Linked DNA regions of Homo sapiens: regions 2 and 3 are each linked to region 1. Evidence: promoter capture Hi-C in human tissues and cell types (Jung and others, 2019). All regions are on one chromosome and are shown on one strand. The core of a region is centred on a gene start or on the middle of the fragment in contact, and the rest is flanking DNA. Distances in the headings are between cores, read along the strand shown.

The links. The method cuts DNA at HindIII sites, captures the fragments that hold promoters and counts their contacts. A contact is called where the count stands out against the background at its distance.
Region 2: a fragment that was not itself captured here is called in contact with the fragment with the promoter of LRRC32 in region 1 in 1 of the 25 tissues and cell types used here (lymphoblastoid cells).
Region 3: a fragment that was not itself captured here is called in contact with the fragment with the promoter of LRRC32 in region 1 in 1 of the 25 tissues and cell types used here (neural progenitor cells).

What each region holds. Positions count from the first base shown.
Region 1 is chr11:76,669,450-76,672,035 of GRCh38, reverse strand. It overlaps LRRC32 (leucine rich repeat containing 32), which reads left to right and starts at 1,289. Exons shown (of 3, transcript NM_001128922.2): 1 at 1,289-1,422. RefSeq lists silencers at 1,145-1,344, 1,405-1,534. The HindIII fragment of the contact is 10,955 bases long and covers 1-2,586 here.
Region 2 is chr11:76,233,022-76,235,607 of GRCh38, reverse strand. TRP-AGG2-4 (tRNA-Pro (anticodon AGG) 2-4) reads right to left here and starts at 95; the gene lies at 24-95. RefSeq lists enhancers at 30-575, 576-1,122, 1,670-2,216. The HindIII fragment of the contact is 3,098 bases long and covers 1-2,586 here.
Region 3 is chr11:76,395,507-76,398,092 of GRCh38, reverse strand. The region is part of intron 1 of GVQW3 (GVQW motif containing 3); the gene reads right to left. Among named protein-coding and RNA genes, the nearest start is that of GVQW3, 15 kb to the right of the region's middle. The HindIII fragment of the contact is 9,534 bases long and covers 1-2,586 here.

The sequences.
Region 1 (2,586 bases), core at 40-2,539:
TCTGGGTTGACCCCATCTCCCCAGATCCATCTCCACAGTGGACTGAACAGGGGTAAGAAAAGGCAGTAACTGTAGAGACTTCAGGGAATCCCGCTTCTGAGCCCAGCCTTACCCTGATTTGCCACAAGGCCCTGGGTGGTCACTTTCATGCATGTAAAATGGGGCACCCTGCCCCACTCTCAGGGCTGGTGACGATCAGGGAAGAGAAACACTGTGGAAGAGGCCCCTTCTACACTTGGAACCAGGACCTGGAGGACAGCCAGGGCCCCTCTCTTCTAGGGACCCGCATACTAGAGTCCACAGGCAGCAAGGCAGGGTACCTGTGATTTGGTAGGGTCAAGGCATCTAGAAGAGAGGTGGCTTTGGGAAAGATCTGCTTCAACCTCCAATCTAAATGACAATACCGCCACCCCATATTTGCACAGTACTTTAAAAATTCGGGCAAGATAATGCCCAAACTGAATCAGACTTAGCTTTATGAACAGATTGGGCTCAAATCACTGATTCTTATTAGCTGTGTTGACTTTGGACACGCCATTTAACCTTTTCTGAGCCTCAGGTTCCCCAGCTATAAATAGGGACCTTACTAGTCTCAGACAATTGGTTTTCATGTGTACACACTGCCCCCACCCCTAGCCTCAGCTTCTCCATCCGAAAACAGGACTTTGATGGTGCCGTTTCACAGGCTGTTGAAGGGTCCCGCAGATGATGGAGGAGTACGGGTCCAGACACTAGAGCACAATCCGGAGAGGAAAAGTGACCTGCCAGGACCCACCAGAGTGGACGGCTTGGTGCGGGGAACCCCCTCCGCGGCCGCCCCAGGGCCAGCGAAGGGTCATTTCCTTCCGCATTCAGCCCCGCCGTCACCTCGCCTGTTTGCCCCCGCGTTAAGTGCGGCGGCGCCAGCAGCTGGGAAATCGGGGCCAGGCCGGATTTCCTCTGTGGACCTGCGGCTCCTAGAGCCACCGCGCCCCCCTCCGGACCCCGCGGGGCCGCGAACTGCACGTGCGGCGGCCGCTGGGATGGGCCTCGCTCCCACGGCGCTTCCTCTGCAACCCCTCTCCCTCCCGCCCTCTCATCCCCCCACACTGGGCCCCCGCCCCTTCCCGGCCGAGGTCCCAGGGTGGTGAAGATGCTTCGCCGCCCCACCCCACTCCGCCCCCGCCGGCTCCGGATAAACCGAGGCACGGGGCCAGGCGCTAGGACCCCACGGCCTCGCCAGAGGGGGGCGTGGCGGGGCGGGCCGGCGGGAGAGGTATTTAAATTGCAGCCGGAGCGCGGGGGCTCCGGTGGGGCAGCTGAGCGGCCTGCTCCTCCTCGGGCCGTGACCCCGGGGTCTGGCGCGGGGTGGGACCCGGGGGCGGGTTTGCGCAAAATGTGCCGAGACTGCCCGGGAGAGGAGCTGCGGCCGCGCTGAGCCAGGTAGGAGCCGCCGGGCAGGCGAGGCTGGCCGGCCCTCGGGGGGCGCACTGTCGCGCGCCTCTAGCGAGCGCAAGGCGGGGGCTGGTCCCAAGGGACGCCCCCCAAACACTCCCCTCCCGCCATCCCCACTGCGCGCGTGGAGCCGGGGCTGACCCTCCCTCGGTCCCTGGGAGTTCCCCAGCGCTCCTGTCTTGGCGGATCTTTCCCGCAAAGGGGTGAGGCCGGCCTTCCCATTTGACAGCTGGGAAAACAATGGCCTGAAGACCGTGACTTGCCCAGGAACACACAGCTAGGCAAGGGCAAACCGGAATTTGAATTCAGGTTTCCTGCAACGCTCCGATCCCAGCCAGGCGTGGGGCTGCCCATCCCACAGCACTAGATGGCCTGCCCATTTCTCGTAGTGGGGTAGGGGGCACCCACCGCTCTCCAAGGGGCTCTGAACCCAGCCTTCTTCATGGGTGGTAAGATGTGAGGGGCCCCCACCCCCACGCCGAGCTGCCTGAAATTCCGCCATCACAGCCACATTCCTTTGGGTTAAGGTCTAATTCCCCCGTGGGATGCACATGTCTCCAGAACGAGGCTTGCCCTTAGTGATTCACTGCTTGACAGGAACGTCCGCAGCAGCTCTCCCAGGACCCCACTCTGCCAGTAAGTCAGCTGAGGCCGAGAGGAGGGAGAGAGGACCTCAGAGGCCAGACTGTGAGCTAGTCTGCCCTGCTCCTGCGTGTGAGGGGTCGTTGGCAGGGCTTAGGGAAGGAGACCTTGATTTGGTATAGTGGGAACATTTGCTTTGGAGACAGATGAACTGGATTCTGATCGTGACCCTGCTATTTTCTCCTTGTGTGACTTTGGGTAAGTCACTTCTCTGAGCCTCCTTTTCTTCATGGGCAAAAAAAAGACAGTTCTATTGGGGGCAGTCGGCTCAGCATGTGCTGGAGAAAACACAGTATTCAGGTCATGTAGAACTGGATAAATCCCAGCTCCAAAGCCCTTATGAGCTGGGTAACTCTGGGGGTAAGTCACTTCACTTTCCGGAAACTGTTTTCTCATCCGTAAAATGGGAATTACAGTAATTTCCTCAATAGGTGATTGTGAGAATTAAATGAGATGATATAGGTCAAGTGCTTAGAAGACTAACATCCTTAAATGTAGGGGTGGGCTTAT
Region 2 (2,586 bases), core at 35-2,534, 440 kb after region 1:
AAAAAGGAAGGGAAAGAAAATGAGGGCTCGTCCGGGATTTGAACCCGGGACCTCTCGCACCCTAAGCGAGAATCATACCCCTAGACCAACGAGCCGTCGCTCGTAAGAGTTTTCGTTTCGCTTTGTAAGTAGAATAGGAGGCACCCTAGAGCCTGCGCCTTCCCGTCCCGGCCGCACAGGACCCACCAATGGCGTGTGCGCTTAGGGCTCGCCTCGGATTACCAATCCGGTATCCGCACAGTGGGACCCCGAGACTGGCTCTGTCGCCGGCGAGCCCTGGATCTGGACGCAGCGAGAACGCAATCAGTCCGCGCTGCAGAGGGGAAATGTGCCTTTCTGCAGATGCAGGGACCACGAGTTTACACTGGACCTGGGAGCTGGGGCGGGACGCGCAGAACTGCAGACCAGGGGCTGGGGGCGGCGGGCTGGGATCCTGGGCAGGAGAATTCTCTCTGAACCATGTGTGGAGCTCCCTAACGCGCCCGCGTTCCAAACATCACATCATCATCATCGTCATCATGACTGCGCAGCCTGGGTCTTGGGGTTCCTGGATGTCTAGCTTTGTGGGAGGGTAACTGACATTGTGAGGCTTTGGCCTGACATTTCGGTCAGGGCTGGGTCAGATGTGCAGTTTCTCGGTTTAGCTACCGAATCCTGGGCGGAACCCACCGACTCTGGTTCACCGAATGGGCCTCCCAGCACGTGGGGCGCCTGGCACGGTTTCCCGTGCTTCGCCTCTGCGTCCACGGTCCATGGGTTCTAGGCTCCCCGAGAAGCCTCTGTGGGGAACAGGGGTGCCAGACCCACTCCGAGAAACGGGTTCCATGGAGCTCTTCCACCTCGTGACTCAGTGTCCTTGGGACACGTAGCCAATGTGTTCAGCATGCCCCCCTGGTGAAAACGGGGTCACAAGGTCTGCCTTCTTGCCTGCCAGAGAGAATTGGGAGCTCCCCACCACCGCGCCCTGTCCCCCGTAGGAGAGCGGAAGGTAGTGGCTGTGCTGGCCTCCATCACAAGGCTACTAGCAGTGCAGAGCCAGCGGTGCAGATCAGTCCAGCCAATTTCCGTTGCGCTCTCTCTCCCTCCCCACCCCTTTCCACCCCCCACACACCCTGACTTCAAGATGAGGAAACTGAGACTGTGACGCCCTGGAAGGACTTTTGCCCAGTGGCCCTTTTCCAAACTCCTTTCAGCTATGTCCTGCGCCTTCAGGAGCTGGCTGGAGCCTCACGTTTCCTTATTCCCAGGTCTGAGGATGTGCGGGCAGGAAGAAATACCTTCAGTCAGTCGCTGGAAGCCTTTGTAAAGCTTCTTTCACTCCACAACACACTTCCACTGGCGCCTGCTCTGCCCCACCCCCGGGCTGGGCCCTGGGGACACTGATGAGTCAACCCTGCCTCCTGAACCCCCTGCCCAGTGGTTGCCACACTGGCTGCACCCTCTGCCTAGCCCAAGGCTGTGGACTGGTCTGCAAGGAGCTCAGTCTGGGCCCTGGCGGACTGTGGTTACTGCTAAATGAGGCTATGGCCTGGACACACACCCAGGACCTTACATCCTCTGCCCGGGCCTTCTGTGCCTCCAGACAGGCCTTCCCCATGGACAGTCCCACACCCACAGTCTCTTCAAACCCTGCGGTGGCTCCACCCTGGGAGCAATGGCTGAGCTCTTTACCTGCCACCTGGGCTTTCTGAGGCCTGACCCCTCCCCACTCACCTCTCTTCAGGCCCTCCTCACTCCGTGAACACTCCAGCCATGGCTCCAGTGGAAGCTGCTCATTCCAGCTGGGGCTGCCCCCAGCTTCCTGCACATTCCAGGCCTTGCGGTTTCTGCACCACCACCTCCACCTCCAGGCAGACACCTCTCCAAGTGCCCCCAGCCCCTGCACTCCCTGTTGCCTGGATGCCTGACCCCTGCACACATCTGTGTCTCTACCCACAAGAGTGTGAGGGAGGGTTCCCTGAGGAGTGGCCATGTCAGCACAGGGCCCAATGCAGATGACCTGTAAAGCGTTTGTTGAATGAGTGGTACTTTGTCTTTCTGTAAAACCCAAAGCCAAAAAAAGACACCGTAACAGCTCAAAGCCTGGCGTGAGTCAGAGGTTCAAGGCTTGCTTGCCCCCTCCATTGGCACAAAATGCCTGTCAGCCAAGAAACTTCTTAGGGAGGTGGTGGGATTCTTTGGTCCCTCTGCCAGAGCTGGGACCCTTGGAGATGACCTCACTAGCCAGTGGGGTAGCAGGGCAGGAAGGGCTCCAGTAGGTGAGAAGGTGACTTTCCAACCAGAAAAGTTCTGGCTAAGAGGCCTGCGTGGAGCAAGTAGGCTCAAGAATGTCAGGGAGGCAGGGCACGGGGTGGCTCACGCCAAGGCGGGCAGATCACTTGAGGTCAGGAGTTTGAGACCAGCCTGGCCAACATGGCGAAACCCCATCTCTACTAAAACTACAAAATTAGCCAGGTGTGATGGCATGCCTTTAATCCCAGCTACTTGGGAGGCTGAGGCATGAGAATCGTTTGAACCTGGGAGGCGGAGATCGCGCCACTGCACTCCAGCCAGCCTGGGTGACAGAGTGAGACCCTGCCTCAAAAA
Region 3 (2,586 bases), core at 39-2,538, 270 kb after region 1:
TGCCATCTTGGCTCACTACAACCTCTGCCTCCTGGGTTCAAGGGATTCTCGTACCTCAGCCTCCCGAGTAGCTGAGACTACAGGCACAGGCCACCACACCAGGCTACTTTTCATACTTTTGTAGAGATGGGGTTTCACCATGTTGGCCAGGCTGGTCTCAAAACTCCTGACCTCAGATGATCCACCCGCCTCAGCCTCCCAAAGTGCTGGAATTACAGGCATAAGCCACTGCAACCGGCCCATTTTCAAACATTAAATTATGTAAACTTACAATTAAATGAATCACTTTAAATATAAAGGTCAAAAATCCTCACAATGCATGCCTTCTTAATTATTTTACCACATTATGCTATCAACCATGCAACTTTTATTTGTATCTCCTGTGTTTATACAGTAGACATACTATAGAATGGTGTACTACTCTGCATCTGTTCCCAGTTCTACATTCAATGATGCCACATTGGTAATTTGAATATTTACACTCTAGAAATTAACAAATGTTACAAATCAGAGATCCCCAACCCTACCAAGTGAAAACTGGTGTTAAATATTTACCAGCATACCAGTGAATACAAGAAATAATGAATTACTTATGAATACCGCTCCTAGGTGTATACCTAAGGGAATTAAAAACGTATGTTCACAAAAACCTTGTACATGAGCATTCATAGCAGTATTCTGCATAATAGCCAAAAGCCGAAAACAACCTAAATGTCCATCAACTGATAAATAAATAGAATGTGGTAGATTCACACAATGGAATGTTATTCAGCCATAAGAAGGAATGAAGGGGCTGAGTGTGGTGGCTCATGCCTGTAATCCCAGCACTTTGGGAGGCCAAGGTGGGCAGATCATGAGGTCAAGAGATTGAGACCATCCTGGCCAACATGGTGAAATCCCGTCTCTACTAAAAATACAAAAATTAGCTGGGCGTGGTGGTGCGCACCTGTAGTCCCAGCTACTCGGGAGGCTAAGGCAGGAGAATCACTTGAACCCTGGAGGTGGAGGTTGTGGTGAGCTGAGATCACCATTGCACTCTAGCATGGGCAACAAGAGCGAAACTCCATCTCAAAAAAAAAAAAAAAAAAAAGGAATAAATGACTGACCCATGCTCCAACGTGGATGAACCTTAAAAACATTAGGCTAAGTGAAAGAAGCCAGACATAAAAGGCTACATATTATGATTCCATTTATATGAAATCTCCAAAATAGGCAAATCCATAGAAACAGAAAGTATATGAGTGGTTGCCAGGGGATTAAAGAAAATGAGGAAACTGCTAATGGGTAGGGGGTTTCCTTGTGGAATGCTGTAATCTGTTCTAAAATTAGTGGTGATGGTTCTACAATTTTGTAAATATACTAACGATTTTATTGGATATGAATTATATTTCAGTAAAAAGAGAGAAAGATAGGCAACGAAGCCGGTATGCAGGTTTATAAATCTAAATAAACACTGGCTGTTAAAACATCTAATTTGAGCCCAGGCATGGTGGCTCATGCCTGTAATCTCAGCACTTTAGGAGGCCAAGGTGGGATGACTGCTTGGCCCCAGGAGTTCGAGACCAGCCTGGGCAATGTGATGAAACTCTATCCCTACAAAAAAATACAAAATTAGCTGGGTGTGGTGGCAGGCACCTGCAGTCCCAGCTACTTCGGGGGCTGTGGTGGGAGGATCCCTTGAGCCCGGGAAGCGTAGTTTGCAGTGAGCTGAGATTGTGCCACTGTACTCCAGCCTGGGCAACAGGAGTGAGACCCTGTCTCAAAAAATAATAATAATAATAAAATAATAATAATAATAATAGCAGCACAGAAATGTTAAAACGATGGGAAAATATACTAGGCAAATGCTAAGCAAAATAATGCAATATTGACAGCTTTTAAGCCAAAAATAATTACTAGGGATAAAGAATCATATGATAATGATAATGATAAAAGGAAAAGTTCACCAGGAAGATATATCCCAGAACCTCTGAGTACCACCTGGCAACATTGCTTCCAAATATACAAAGCCCCCTCAAGTCTTCAGCATGTATGTAAGGAAACTACCAGAGGCCAGAGAAAGAACTGCCTAAAAGGATTAGAAGGAACCATTTTTGGAGATCACACAGGTCCACTTCCTATTCCTAACATCTAGAGTGGCAAGACATATTTCATAAGGTTTCGGGTGCCCTCAACACTGGGGCAAAATTAGCCCTAGACTAATATTACTCTGGTCTCATCTAACAAAGCTTAAAAGTAATAGCCAAAAGCTATTTCCAAAAATCAGTCAAATGAAACTGAGGGAGATAGGTAAAATTGATAGATAAGGTCATTAAAACTATTATCACTGTATTCCATGTGATCAATAACCTAAAGAAAAAATTGAGCTTGTTAAGTAGAGACATGGAAGATATCAAAAAGACCCAAATTCCAGTAGCAATACACTCACTGCCCATATCTTGCTTTCTAAACACCATTCTCCAATAAAAGGAACCAGGGCTAGACAGAAATCGAGAATAGAGAAATGGCTGGTCACAGGTGTGGAAGGCAAAAAACAAGATAATCTTGGAGCATATTGTAGTACCAGAAGGTAAGGACCTGCTAAGA